3 separate regions of the Homo sapiens genome follow, and all the other regions are linked to region 2. The links are contacts of gene promoters, found by promoter capture Hi-C in human tissues and cell types (Jung and others, 2019). All regions are on one chromosome and are shown on one strand. The core of a region is centred on a gene start or on the middle of the fragment in contact, and the rest is flanking DNA. Distances in the headings are between cores, read along the strand shown. Region 1 overlaps MTHFSD (methenyltetrahydrofolate synthetase domain containing). Region 2 holds the start of FOXF1 (forkhead box F1). Region 3 has its middle 59 kb from the start of FENDRR.

Region 1 (4,730 bases), core at 487-2,986, 36 kb before region 2:
TGGAATTCATTTTTAACAGAGCCAAAAGAACAGAGATATTAAAGTATTCAAGAATTCTGTCCTTAATGGAGCCACGTGGGAAAACTGAGTAAACAGATTCTATTTCTGTAACTCAGTTTCTATTTTGCACGAAATTGGCAAATTATAAATTCCTTATTGTAAGAAAAGGGAAGACGGGTGATCTGGTTCTCTGGCACTGCCCGGTGTTAACCTGCGATGTTCAGTATTGTGGAGCTTTTTCTTATTCCCGGCCTGTTCATCAGGTGCCACCAGAGCGACTGGGGAGACAGGATAGAATTTCCAAAACATGCTCCATTGGAAATTGCCTCACCAGTTCTAAGTGAGTAATTGCTGATAATTACATATTTAAGATTTTCTTGAATGCCTCACAATTTAGTAAAACCAAGTGTACAAATATGACTTTAGGGTGCATTATAATAAAATTGGTCATGTATTTTACAGTTAAGTCGAATTTGGTGACTTTTTTAAGAATCTTAAGGTAAACTCCAAGTCATTTAATTTTTAATCTACTGAGAAGAAAAAATAAGACAATTGAAGATACGCTTTTTTATGGGATTTGCCACTTAAGCCTAATGTATAAAACTGGAACGTTTCATTGTTTACTTATTAGCACCCTGCTTATTCCAAAAATAGAATTTGATATGGTTTCTAAAAATACATACAATAAAGTAAAAAATATATATATAGAGAGAGAAAGGAGCAAAGGAAAAAGAAAGATAGAAAACTGAGACGAAAGCATGGTGATGGTCAGCATTCACAAATGCAAGCCGTCTCTTCCTTTGCAGTTGGTCAGTGCCTGCCCCCGTGGACCCTGCGAGATGATGAGAACACAGGGTTTCCTGCAGTGCAGGGTTTCCTGGACTAAGCCCCCTTCTGTGACTGTCGGGAGACCCCCAAGCCACCCGTATGCACTGATCCATACGGAACTTGTCATAGCACTGCAGGCAGATCCCACCGCCACATCGAATGATCAGTTACTGCTGGATACGGGACTGAAAATGGCTTTTTCCTGAGTCTTACATAAACCGTGTTATGAGAACCATGAACATATTCAGCTTCCCTATTCTTTATATGCATGCCTGCATTAGTATAAAGCGGTACACTTTTGGGACATTTTGGTTGAAGGGATAATTTTTTAGAAGCGAGTATATTGTACATAAAGATAGTGGCCTTCAGGATTTTATATTGAATAAATATGTCATACAGTGTTTACTGACCATGTCTTATGTGCTAAATGCATACGTTTTGTTATTTAATTCCAACACTGGTCCGACGAGGCAGAGGGTGGTGTCCCTGTCTTACAGCTGAAGAAACTGAGGCTCAGAGAGCTCCAGCCTGCTGGGGACCTGTGGCTCAGAGGCTCTGAACCCAGTTCCCTGGGACTCTGCCCCTGTGTTTTCACCACTGTGCTCTTCTGCCTTATGGGGAAAAACGATTTGTTAAATGTTATGAAGTTGGCAGCCTATGAATTTGTGCTGTGAGTTCCTCTTGGCCGCCTTTCTGGGAAAGAGACTGGGGAAACTGTGCCCTAAAGCGGTTTCTGGAATGCGGCTTCTCCTGAAACGCCACATCTCCGGTGTTGCGTGTGCCTGCATCTGTTTTGTCCAAGAGGTTGATTCAAACCCTGAGTGCACTTTGATCATGAATTATAAAATGAGGAAGCAGCTGGAGTTGAAGTTTTCCAATCCGTATCTCTGTGTGCAGGGTGTGAGGAACTACAGTGTCCCCATAGGCTTGGACTCCAGAGTCCTCGTGGATTTAGTTGTGGTGGGATCCGTCGCCGTTTCTGAAAAAGGTAAGACTAGCAGATGGGAACCCTTGAGTGTGACAGCTCTGCCTGAAGGCGGCTGCGTGCCAGGCTGTTTGTCTTTCAAAAGTCGCCAGTGGTGTCTGCTTTCTGGATGCGCTTACCTGGTCTCCGAAGCCGCTGCATTTTTCAGAGGTGAAGAATTGGCTCAGCCCACCCGCTTCTGGCCCCAGCCCAACATGTGTACAGCATTTTCACTTTTCTTAGCAGGAAAAACAAAGTGAGATAACTCTCTGTTCAGGTGGTGAAAGGTTTTCTCTCTGTTCTTGAGTGAGCTGGAGCTTAATTTCTTTTCAGTATGTCAGTAAATAGTTGGTTTTGGAGGGACTCCAGCAAATGGAAAAACAGTAGGTTCCAAGCTTTGTTTTTATTATGAAGCAGCAGACTCTTGAACAACACGGTGTGTCCGAGACTCCTGAACAACGTGGTGTGTCCGAGACTCCTGAACAACGTGGTGTGTCCGAGACTTCTTCTCAGGCCTGGTGCTTTGCCACGCTGCATGTGAGGCAGGCTGCTCTCGGTCCACAAGGCCAGGGGGCCCTTGCTAAGAGGGCAGGGTCACCACACCACCTCTTGCTGTCTCCAGCTTCAGGGTGCCCTCTTTTCCCAGCCACCACTGGAGCTGATGTGGGGACATTGTTCTTTATTCTTTGCTTTCAGTGCATTCCCAGTTTCTGGTGCTTCGTCTGTGTCATCGGGGCTGGGGACTCAGGAGCGCACTGTTCTGGTATACCTGCTACACCTGCTGTGTGCCAGGCAGGCACTGGGTGGTCTTTAAGTGCATGGTGTGTGGGTGGGCCAGACACGAGAGCTGGACCAGGACAGGACGTGACGTGCTCAGTGCTGGACACAAGTCAGGACCGACGGGAGGGGGAAGGGGAGTCTGAGGAGGGACGTGCCAGCCTGGAGGGGGCATCTCCTCAGTAGCGGCCTCAGGGCTGGCTCCTGCATGCCGGCCACAGTCCAGGCAGAGGGGACTGAAGGGTCCTCAGGCAGCAGGCCCTTTACTAGGTTGCGGCCCCTTCTCAGCAGCCTTGAGGCCAGATGATGGGACTTGGGCTCTTGGTGGTGGGAAATCAGCAAAGGTCCCCTCTTGGAAAATATCATCAGGTTCAGGGATGTATAAAGAAGAAAGTAACACTTCGTAAGTTTCATCGTTTAGCTAACCCCCTGTGTAAAGTAGTAAAGTAACCATGTGTCTGCTTAGAAAATTGAACAGCACAGAAAGCTGCACCATAAGTCTTCCCTGTTCCTTCCCAGCTGCCCCATTAGGAGTTCCTAGTGTAGACGTTGTACATAGTAGCATGCGTGTGAGACACAGATATCTTTTTTTTTTAAGTTCCGGGATACATGTGTAGGATGTGCAGGTTTGTTACATAGGTAAACGTGTTCCATGGTGATTTGCTGCACCTACCAACCCATCACCTAAGTATTAAGCCCAGCATGCATTAGCTATTTTACCTGATGTTCTCCCTCCCACTGCCCCTGCCCTGACAGGCCCCAGTATGTGTTGTTCCCCTCCCTGTGTCCATATGTTCTCATTGTTCAGCTCCCACTTACGAGTGAGAACATGCAGTGCTAGGTTTTCTGTTCCTGCGTTCGTTTGCTGAGGATAATGTTTTCCAGCTCCATCCATGTCCCTGCAAAGGACATGCTCTCATTCCTTTTTATGGCTGCATAGTATTCCATAGTGTATATGTACCACATTTTCTTTATCCAGCCTATCGTTGATGAGCATTTGGGTTGATTCCATGTCATTGTTATTGTGAATAGTGCTACAGTGAACCTACATGTGCACGTGTCTTTAGAGTAGAATGATTTATAATCCTTTGGGTATATACCCAGTAATGGGATTGCTAGGTCAAATGGTATTTCTGGTTCTAGGTCCTCTAGAAATCAGCACACTGTCTTCCATAATGGTTGAATTAATTTACCTTCCCACCAACAGTGTAAAAGTGTTCCTATCTCTCCACAGCCTTGCCAGCATCTGTGGCCATTCTGACTGGCATGAGGTGGTGTCTCATTGTGGTTTTGATTTGCATTCCTCTAATGATCAGTGATGTTGAGCTTTTTTCCATGTTTGTTGGCTGTATAAATGTCTTCTTTCGAGGAGTGTCTGTTCATGCCCTTTGCCCACTTTTTATTGGGGTTGTTTGGGTTTTTTTCTTGTAAATTTGTTTCAGTTTCTTACAGACTCTGGATATTAGACCTTTGTCAGACAGATAGTTTGCAAAATTGTCTCCTATTTTGTAGGTTCTCTGTTCACTCTGATGATAGTTTCTTTTGCCGAGACACAGATATGTTATAGCAGTGGTCCCCAACTTTTTGGCACCAGGGACCGGTTTCATGGAAGACAATTTTTCCATGGACCAGGGAGGGGACGGTTTCAGGATAATTTAAGCACATTACATTTATTGTGTACTTTAGTTCTGTTATTCCTACATCATAATAAATCACAGAGTAATTATACAACTCATAATAAAGAATCAGTGGGAGCCCTCAGCTTGTTTTCCTGCAACTAGACGGTCCCATCTCAGGGTGATAAGAGACAGTGACAGATCAGCAGGCATTAGATTCTCATCAGGAGCACGCAACCTAGATCCCTGGCATGCACCATTCATACGAGGGTTTGCACGCCTGTGAGAATCTAATGCCGCAGCTGATCGGACAGGAGGCGGAGCTCAGACAGTAATGAGAGTGATGGGGAGCGGCTGTAAATACAGATGAAGCTTCACTCTCTCACTGCCCACCTCGTGCTGTGTGGCCCGGTTCCTCACAGGCCATGGACTAGTACTGGTCTGTGGCCCAGGAGTTGGGAACCCCTGTCTTATAGTTTTTAGGTATAGATGTATAGATATCCCTTTTCTGCATTCACAGAAGGGACGGTGGCACACACAGAGCT
Region 2 (5,047 bases), core at 1,421-3,920:
AACCCTTTTCTTCTGCCGACGGTTATACCTCGAGAAGAAAGCAGTTTCTTGTGCCGGTCCAGGGTCCCTGTGACCCGCCTGCCTGCACCAGGAGGGCCTGCGGCGGCAGCCTCACATCACGCAAGGCTTGATGTCTTGGTAGGTGACCTGCTGGTGGTAGTAGGAGCCCCCGCCGGCCGAGTGCATGGAAGAGGACGCCATGGCGTTGAAAGAGAAGACAAACTCCTTTCGGTCACACATGCTGGGCGACTGCGAGTGATACCGCGGGATGCCTGCAAGGCGAGGCGACAGGAGGGGTTGGGGGAGCAGAAGAGTTAGCCACGGTGGCTCAGAGTTCAGGCAGAGGAGCAGTGCTCCCGTGGGGCGCACAGGGCCTGTCAGCCTGGCTCCAGAGCACGGCCGCCTCCCCGCTCTCCTCCCCGAGTCCCGGCCTTCCAGCTGCGCACCCAAGGAAAAGACTCCAGAACACTTGCCACGGCCTGCCTGCCTGCCTGCCTGCCTGCCTGCTGCGTGCCTGTCCAGCCTCGGACACCGTGCAGGGGCCCAGGGCTTCCAGAGCCATAGGGGAAGTGGTGAGGGAGACCAAGTGGAGGGCCCCTAACGCCCATGGCCGTCACCGCCAGGGCAGCCACCACCACCCCCAACCTCAGAGGCTACGACTGCCGGCGGGGTTGAAGGAGAGGCCAGTGCAGGGCCAGCGCCGGGCCAGCAGCAGGGGTGAGAAGAAGCTTCTCCAGAGAACAGGCCCCGGAGCCGGGGAGTCCCCCGCAGAGAGGCTGCCTAAGGCCTCCAGGCCTGGCTCCTGCCTCCTGGGGCTGCTGACAGCTGACCCTGGACTGGCCCTGGCAAGCTCACTCCAGCTTTTTCCAGAGCTGGGCCTGCAGGCTGCGGGGGGCCTGGGGCAGAATCAGGAGGCGAGGCTGCTGCATCTCCCTTGGCAGATGCTTCTGCATGTTCGGGGTATTGGGGTATCAGGGGTGTTGGGGGTGTGGGGACCTGAAAACTTGGATCCTAAAAAACAAGGAGCCCCCATGGCCCGGTCTGCAGCTCTGACCCTCCGGGGCCTGGCCACGGCACCCTCCTGCCTCAGTCACCACAAAATGCCCCTGGACTCAGCTGTGGGTCTGCCAGGTCTGGTCCCCTGAAAGGCCGGGGCTGAGCCTCTGAGCGCTGGCCCAGCGGCTTTGGGCCTAACACCTTCCGTTCCGCCCAGCCCCAGGCAGAGGCAGCCCTCCAGGCAGCCTGAGGGCCACCACCAGGGAGGGACAGCCATCTGGCCAGCGCTGGGAGCCTTGGGTCCATCCCAGGATCTTTCCAAGCTGTGAGGGGACTTAAGGGACACAAAAGGACTTAGGGCACTGGGGTCTGGGACATCTGGCTCAGGACCAGCCTACCTGGTCAGGCCTGGAGCAGCTGGCAGCTGGAGTTCGAACAGAAAGAGAAACAGATTGGCCCAAACTAGGGTCAAGAGCGGTAGTCACTCTTCGAAGGGGGAGAGGTGGGGCCAAGAGACACCTTGGGGAGCTGGTGCCTCCCCTCAGCCTTGGGGTTCCGACCACAGAAGTGGAGGGGCTCGCCCCAGCTGGGTCCCGCTGCCACTCAGACTCGACTTCCCGGGGACCAGGGCGCCCTCGGCCTCCCCACTCACCTTGCAGCTCGGCTGGGGCGTTGTGGCTGTTCTGGTGCAGATACGGCTGCTCCAGGGAGTGCGTGGAGAGGCTGCCGGACAGGGGGTTGGCCGCGGGGTTACAGGGGGACAGGGGCTGCTGCTTGATATAAGAGGCGCCGCTGTTGAGCGCCGCGGACGCCGAGGGCGGCCAGGCCGCCGCCGAGCCCGAGTAGACGGCGTGCGGCTCCATGACCCCACCGGCGCCGGTGGGCAGCAGCGGGGAGGCGGGCACCGAGCTGTCGTGGTGCGGGTACTCGCCGGCCGCCGCGCCGCCGCAGCCGCCCATGTACGAGTGGCCGCCGTTGGAAGGCAGGTGGGGCACCGAGTGGCTGGGCAGGGCCATGCCGTCCACGTTGCCCGGCAAGTGGCCGTTCATCATGCCCAGGCCGCCCTCCAGCGCCAGGCTGTTGGGCGGGCACGAGAGGCCGCCGGCCGAGCCCTGGAAGCCGTAGGTGTCCGGGAGGTGGTTGAAGCCGAGCCCGTTCATCATGCTGTACATGGGCTTGAGCGCCTGGCATTTCCTTCGGAAGCCGCGCGGCCGCCGCCGAAAGGAGCCCTCCTCGAACATGAACTCGCTGGCCGGGTCGATGGTCCAGTAGTGGCCCTTGCCGGGCCGCCCAAGGCCCTTGGGTAGCTTGATGAAGCACTCGTTGAGCGAGAGGTTGTGGCGCACGGAGTTCTTCCAGCCCTGGTAGGAGCCCCGGAAGAAGGGGAAGCGGCTCTGCAGGAACTGGTAGATCTCGCTCAGCGTCAGGCGCTTGGTGGGTGAACTCTGGATGGCCATGACGATGAGCGCGATGTAGGAATAGGGCGGCTTCTCCGGGCGCCGGATGCCGGCGTTGGTCTTCTTGGCCTTGGACGGGCCGGACGACGCGGGGTCCATGGCCGCGCCGCCTCCCCCGCCGCCGCCGCCGCCGCCGCCGTGCGGTGGCTGCTGCTTCTCGGGCGCCGAAGACATCGGGTGGCTGCTGCCGCCGCCGCCGCTGCCGCCGCTGCTCTGCGCCGCGGACGGGCCGGGAGGAGGAGGAGGAGGAGGAGGAAGAGGACGACGGGGGGGAGGAGGGCGAAGGGGAGGGGGCTGCGCGCGCGGGGCTGGCTGCACCTCTGCCGTCATCGGCGGCCACTTCTCCCGAGCGAGCCGCGGCGCGCCCGCCCCCGCGCTCCCGCCCGCCCTCCCCGAGGAGCTGCTGGATCCGCCGGCGGTTGGCTCAGAGCCCCTCTCTCTCCAACTCCCGCCTCCCCCACCTCTCTCCTCCCTCTTTCTTTCTCGCCCTCCCACAAGGAAAGGAGCCGAGCTGAGGCCGAGGGCAGCCCGGGCGAAGGCCGTGAGGAAGCTACCCCCGCCGGTATTTTTTGGGGGGAGGCACCACCTCCAGGTCTTACGGCCGTGCGCCCCAGCCGGGAGCAGCCCTGAGTCCCCGCCGCCCGCGGCGCTCGGCTCCGAGATTCCGGGCGAGGCAGCCTTCACTCCATCTCCGCTCGGCTGCGTCTCGCGGGTCGGCCTAAGACCCTCCCGGAGTTCCCTCCCTCCGTCCCTGCCCCCCTCGGGCCCCCGCGTTGGTGGGCGCTTAAAGAGCCCCCACTCTCGCCGCCCCGCGGCCGCCAGCAGAATCCGCCCCGCCTCCACCAACCTGGCGAGCAAGTGTTAATGCGCCCTCCGCCCGCGGTTCAGCCCCGGTGCGCGCTGGACCCCGCCTTCCCCGCCCGGGCGGCGCGGCGGGAAACGCTCCCTGGGCCGGGGCCTTCCCCGACGCGCACAGCCCTGTAGCAAATCGCAAGTGCGGCGGCCTCCCGGTCGTGACCATCGCAGGCACAGCCGGCTCGACTCCGGTCCTCGCGGCCGGCCGGCTAAGTTCCCGCGAGGGACCGCCTACCCACTCTCCCCGCCCCGGGAAGAACTGCGCCGCTCCCGGGATTTTTCGGACTCGCCCAGCAGCTTGCGAGCGGGCGGGCAGCCGCCGGGGCAGAGCGCAGGCGGAAAACGAAAGCGCAGCACGAGTCGCGGCCGCTTTGTCTCGGGCGCCGCGGGCCTGACGGGGGCGAGTGAGAACCCGCTGGCCCAGAGGCGACCCAGACCGCACAGGCCCCTGAATAAGCGGCGTGCTCAGTCACTCACCCGTGCGCGCACACCCTCGCGCTCTTGTCCACACATTAGCACACACATACATGTCTTGATGCACATGCAAACCCGGTAAATTACGCAAACAGACGTGTAAACACACCCATGCGTGTGTGCACACTCATATGCAGAGGGCGCTCAGGCATGTGCGCACCCACTAATGCACTCGTTGACACGGAAGCTTAAGGCCCACAGGAGCTTAAGTTCGCACTCACTCCCACTCACGCGTACACACGCCACGCTCGGATCTGAACTCACACGTAGTTCAGTTGCCCTCCCCCACCCCCAACACACACTGAAAACCCGCCTATTTGGCCCCGCGGCCCCGTTTTCAAAGCGCAGGTTCCGATTTCCCGAGAGATGGCAAAGGCCCTGGCAGGAAGTTTACAGGGTTTAACGTAAACAAGTTCTGGGGGATTCTTTAATAATAATAATAGAGAATTCCGCGTGCGCAGGGCGGGAGGGGGGAGTTGGCCTAATGCCCCTGTGGGCTCGGCCTGCCGCCGCCGCGGGGCCTCTGACACTGCGCGCCAGGCCAGGTTCCTGAGAGCAGACAGCGCGGGCTGGGAGCGCCGGCAAGGGCGGCCCTCGCGCACCTGGCTGCCAGCCCGCAGGGGGCTCGCACGCAGACCTGCCCTTGCCACCTCAGCGCTCGGGTGCGGGCTGGGGGCGGTGGAGCCACGAAAGGTGGTGCCGAGAGCGGAGCGCAGGACAGCGCAGGAGCCCCGGCGCATCGCGGCGCGCACAGACCCAGGTGAGTGCTGCTCTCGCAGCGACTGCTGGCCGGGCGCGGCCTCTCCCTCCAGGGTTCCGAGTTGAGAAGAGGGGGGCGAGGGGTGTTTTCGCGGGTCATCGCGAAGAGCCTAGAGGCCAAGCCCCAGCGCGAGCTGGGGCGAGAGGCGTGTGCCGGGCTCGCAGCACGGCCCGCGGCGCGGCGCGTTCAAAGCCTACCCGCCTCTCGGTTTTCTCCGGACTCCTTGTCTCCCGCTAACTACCCGCCCCCACCTTCCTGGCTCGGACGCCTTCATTTTCGGCGGGAGACGCCTGTCGCCTTCGGGGCGCCTGGCACGTCGGTGAGAGGAGCTGGGGGGCTCGCCGGCGCAGCCTGCCGGGCAGTCGCCGCCTCCTCCGCCAGATCTGCGCTCGCGGGAGAAGAGAGCCGCCTTCCCGCGCTGCCCTTCCGCTGGCCTCTCTGGGTCTCCGCGTGCAGACAGCCTGGCCCGCCTAGGGAAAGAATGAGTGTGGGACGTGACCCGTAG
Region 3 (4,515 bases), core at 787-3,286, 61 kb after region 2:
TTGGGAGTAGCAGGGCTGGGCTCCTGCTCAGACATCAGGGCTCCAGAAACCCAGAGAGCTCATCTGTGTATCTCATTATAGACACACCCAAGGGAGAGATTAAACATATTTAATAACAGATGTGGGCGTAGACCAATTAGGATGAACATCAGCTGAAAACAATTGGTACTACGATTTACCGCTCTATGTTCATATCCAAATCCACTTGTGTCCATGAACTTATAACTCTATCTATGTCTATACCCAACTATACCTCTATCTCTCTCAGACTATATCATCCATCTATGCCTGTACCTAGATTCATATCCATCTACCCATATCTGTATCTGTCTATATTTATATCCCTACATGCCTCCATCTCTGTCTACATCATCCATATATGCCAGTACCTATATCCATCTCTAACTATCCATATCTGTATCTGTGTCTATATCTATATCCATCCATACCTGTACCTCTATCTCTGTCTACATCATCCATCTATGCCTGTACCTATATCCGTATCTATCTATCCATATCTGTATCTATGTCTATATCTTATCCATTGATAGCTGTGTCTGTATCCATAACCATCTTAGCATCTATATCCATCTATTTCTATTTATATAAATATCCATCTAAGTTTGAATTCCCCTCAGAGCAGATCCCACAGGGACTTGGTGCAGGGGGTTATTTGGGATATGATCCCAAGAGATGCAGTGGGGAAAGCGAGGCAGGAGAGGGGACAAGCTGAGTCAGGAGCATTGACAAGAGGACGAACACAGTGGGCCACATGGGCTTAGTCCCACTGGAAAGCTCTGGGGGGACCCTGGGAAACATGCCCCAGCCTTGCCTCACTACGGGTTTTTCTCTCAGTTTGGGGTCCCCCAGAAACTGGCCCTGAGATGCAGAGATAATATTTAGGAGGTGGTCCAGACACCAGGCTCATGGGCACAGCAGGGCAGCCCTGATGACAGAAGCAATGCATTTTGGAGATTGGTGTGCAAAACAGCAGGGACAGCAGCCCATAAAGGGTTTGTATTGAGCAGGTTATGTCTGTGGGTGGCTGTGGCTTAATCCTGCTAGGGAAACTCTGGGAGCCTCCCAGAACAGAATTATCCCACCTGGTGGGGAAGGGAGTTGAGGTATTGATACCCCAGCTCCTATGAATCAATGTTTGAGGTCACCTCCTTGGGGTGGGTGTTAGTTCCTTGCTATTTCTGGTCTGGCTCACAGGTGGGAATGGGGTCTCTGGAGGCAGAGAGAGCCCACAGGCCATGAAATGCAGGAGTCGGAATTGGAGTTTGGTTCCCCGTTCACAGAAGAGGTAAGGCTGAGAGGAATTGGGACAGGGAGTACTGACAGTGACTACCTCAGGTTTTTACTCACTGACTCCTCACTGCAGGAATGAGAGCTGCCCTCAGGGATATCCAGTCCCTGCTTCTGCTGGGCTGTCCTGTGTGTGCGCTGATCAGATTCCCCTGGTCAGGAGACACCCTTAGGTGAGGAGCAGAGGCATTTGGGGCCGGAGCTGGGTGGGGGACTGGGTACCTGGGCTGCAAGTATAGTCAGGTGTGTGCGAGCCATCGTGACAACCTCCATTCTGTGTCTAGTTCTGTATCATCAACTAGATCAGTCCAGGCCCAGAAAAAAGAGCAGACGTCAAACCCCATAGGGCTTGTCTGTAGATGCTGTGTCCCAGGCAGTTCTGATTTTCCTCTTTGGGCTCTTAGAAATATTCTGAATTTTCTCCAATCAACATGCATCACTTCTGTAATCAGCGCTGTGCTGCTGTGCCCACGAGCCTGGCTCTATTTTCTGGAGCCTTTGAGGAGAATCTCTAGATCTTCTTGTCTTGTCTGTGCCCAGCTGGTGGCCGAAGCCTGCCCTTCAGCATCTTGGGTCTTGTTTCTCTCATCTTTAAGATGAGGATGTCGATTATAAAGATCCATTATACATTTTAAATTTATTTTCATGCACATGATTCTCAATAACTCCCCAAATTAAAGTTTGAAGGCACCGAAGATTTTAGAACAACAAAAATACTAATGTCAGAAAGTGCAAAATGTCTTCCAAACATCCTAGGCAAACACAAAGCCGTTCTCCACCCGCCCTCCGAGACCAGCCCACGGGTTCTCCTCCCACAAGAAGGGTATTTATAGAGCATTTTCTACCAATTTTCACTAAATCTTGTTTTTGCCTCCCCAACCCACAAAGTACCTGAGGTGTAGAAGTGAATTTATAACAGGAAGCCTTTGATTCTTGAGCCTTTATGTTTTTGAAGGCCTCCAGAGCAGAGCTGTAAAACAGCTGGCTTGTCTTAAAGGAATGTCCCATTCTCCACGCGGGGGTTGGCACCCTGTCTTCCTTAGCAGAGGAGGGGGACGTCTGCGTGCTCAAAGAGAGGAAGCGCCTGCCCCGTGGAGGAAGCGGGTGTCTGGGTGTGAAGGCTCCTCGCAGCCCAGCATCCGTCCCTCCTCCTTGGCCACAGCCTGATCCTGAACTCTGACCACGGGGTGAAACAAGCACAGAGGGGCCTCAGGGCCTGGGGGCCTCTATCCTCAGCCAGCAACCACAGCCGGACAGCCCAGACGTGGGGCTACCTCGAGCATGATGTCCCTGTTAGATCTGGGGTCAGTATGCCTCCGTATCTCTGTTTTTCCATCAGTTTGATGACTGCTTTTATTGTGGTGAAAGTGAAGAAATGTGATCGCATCAAATGCAAGTATTGATGGGTAGAGGCACTTGGATTTCAAAAAGGTTAAAAGGTGCTCAATATGCATCTTAGAACCAAGGAAATTAGATAAACAGAGACTAAGTCCTCAAAGAATTATAGATCTACCCAGAGGGGTTGCCCAGAGAGTCCGAGCTCAACCCGCTGCACCCCCACTTAGGGAGGTGGCTCATACACCTTCCAATGGACTTCCCAGCACCTAGTTGACTCCCCCAAACAGGGCGTCCGCTGTGACCCCCATAAGTGGCCTCAGGGAATCATCCCCCAATAATCTGGGGCCGTGCACTCTCATTGAATCCTCCTACAACGTCATGTGGTCAATGTTCTCATTCCCATTTTATGCTAGAGGAGCCTGAGCCTCAGGGATGTGTAGCTCGAGGTCATAACTAGAAAGTGTGCACTGTCCCTAAAGTGTATGCACTTTAAAGCCAGGTCCGCATCTCGAAATCCTAGTGCTGCACAATGTTCACACTTTTCATCTCGTTTGCTCCCGCCCTGGGTGATGAAGGGGTTTAGTCCAACTCTACGATGGCAGAGTCGAGTAGCTGTGACAGAGACAGTATGGTGACTCACTAAACCCAAAATATTTTGCAGAAGAGGAAACAGCTTCAGAGAGCTTAAACGGCATGTTCAGAGTAAGTGGCAGAAGCAGGGACTCAAGTTCTCACCAGAACAAACTTCAGTCTAGACCAGGGACTGGCAAAATACAGGCCCAATCCAGCCTACCACCTGTTTCTGTAAATAAAGCTTTATTGGAACATAGCCATGTACATTTATTTACGTCTTGTCTCTGGCTGCTTTTCTGCTACAAAGAAGGAGTTGAGTAATTGTGTCAGTGACTGTGTGCCCCACAAGGGCTAAACTATTTACTATGTGGCCTTTTGCAGAAAAAGTTTATGGATCCATGATCTAGACACAGAGTCCATTTCAGGATAATGAGTTCCGTGGAATTACATGAACAAATCGAGGACCCCAGGGGCGGAAGTTACACAACTTACTAGTCTGGGTTCATTGCATAAAGTAGAAACGATTGTAGTTATTAAAGCTTGCAATGCAGTGGACTGGGAGCTTAAGAAACCTAAGATACTGTGGCGGAGGCTGGTTGGACTCTGTTGCCCTGGAATTTCAGCCTTTTGCAGAATGTGCACCCCTTCTCCCGCCTCCTGAGCGTGGCACGGATGGCTCCCTCTGCTGAGACTGCCCCCCAGGTCCCACCCTGTCCAGCCAACTGCTGCTTGCCCACCTTTCAGGTCCCTGCCTCACCTCCTCTGGGAAGACTTCCTAGGTTCCTCACTGGTCTAGGGGCCCAGTCTTTCTGTTTTCCTGGGAGCCATCCTTACCTGGACATTTGCAGCCATTGCACTGCAATGCAACATGTCTGCTTACTGCTCTGTCTCTTTATGGCCAATCTCATCTTCCAAAGATGGCTGCAACAATATTTCCCATCACACATGTGACTCTGACAGTCTTCATATTAACGGATGTGGTTGATGTCCCTGTTCCTGAAATTCAGCAAGTGTTTGTGACTGTTTGGACCACCAGAGGATGGCAGAAATGATGCTATGTGACTTCCCAAGCTAGGCCACAAAGGACAAGGCAGCTTCCCTGTGACTCCCTGTGAGACTGTCTCTCGAAGCTCTCAGCTGGCAGTGAGCAGCCTCAATGCTTGGAGACCACCATGATGCGAGGAGGCCCGAACAGCCCACACAGTGAGACCTCATGGAAAGGGCTTGGGGCTACATGAAGAGAGGAGCCCAGCACACCTCTAGATGCTGCAGCTGCACCCTTGTCCTTGTCCCTGT

The links. Contacts are between HindIII fragments. The study calls those that stand out against the background at their distance.
Region 1: a fragment that was not itself captured here is called in contact with the fragment with the promoter of FOXF1 in region 2 in 2 of the 25 tissues and cell types used here (lymphoblastoid cells and pancreas).
Region 3: a fragment that was not itself captured here is called in contact with the fragment with the promoter of FOXF1 in region 2 in 2 of the 25 tissues and cell types used here (bladder and pancreas).

Annotation. Positions count from the first base shown.
Region 1 is chr16:86,543,645-86,548,374 of GRCh38, reverse strand. MTHFSD (methenyltetrahydrofolate synthetase domain containing) reads left to right here. Exons shown (of 8, transcript NM_001159377.2): 5 at 1,726-1,816. Among named protein-coding and RNA genes, the nearest start is that of MTHFSD, 9.2 kb to the left of the region's middle. The HindIII fragment of the contact is 8,046 bases long and covers 1-4,730 here.
Region 2 is chr16:86,508,150-86,513,196 of GRCh38, reverse strand. It overlaps FOXF1 (forkhead box F1), which reads right to left and starts at 2,670. Exons shown (of 2, transcript NM_001451.3): 1 at 1,649-2,670; 2 at 1-272. The coding sequence starts at 2,627. The coding sequence ends at 112. It overlaps FENDRR (FOXF1 adjacent non-coding developmental regulatory RNA), which reads left to right and starts at 4,337. Exons shown (of 4, transcript NR_033925.1): 1 at 4,337-4,542. RefSeq lists an enhancer at 411-1,177. The HindIII fragment of the contact is 9,827 bases long and covers 1-5,047 here.
Region 3 is chr16:86,447,488-86,452,002 of GRCh38, reverse strand. No RefSeq gene overlaps it. Among named protein-coding and RNA genes, the nearest start is that of FENDRR, 59 kb to the left of the region's middle. The HindIII fragment of the contact is 3,146 bases long and covers 464-3,609 here.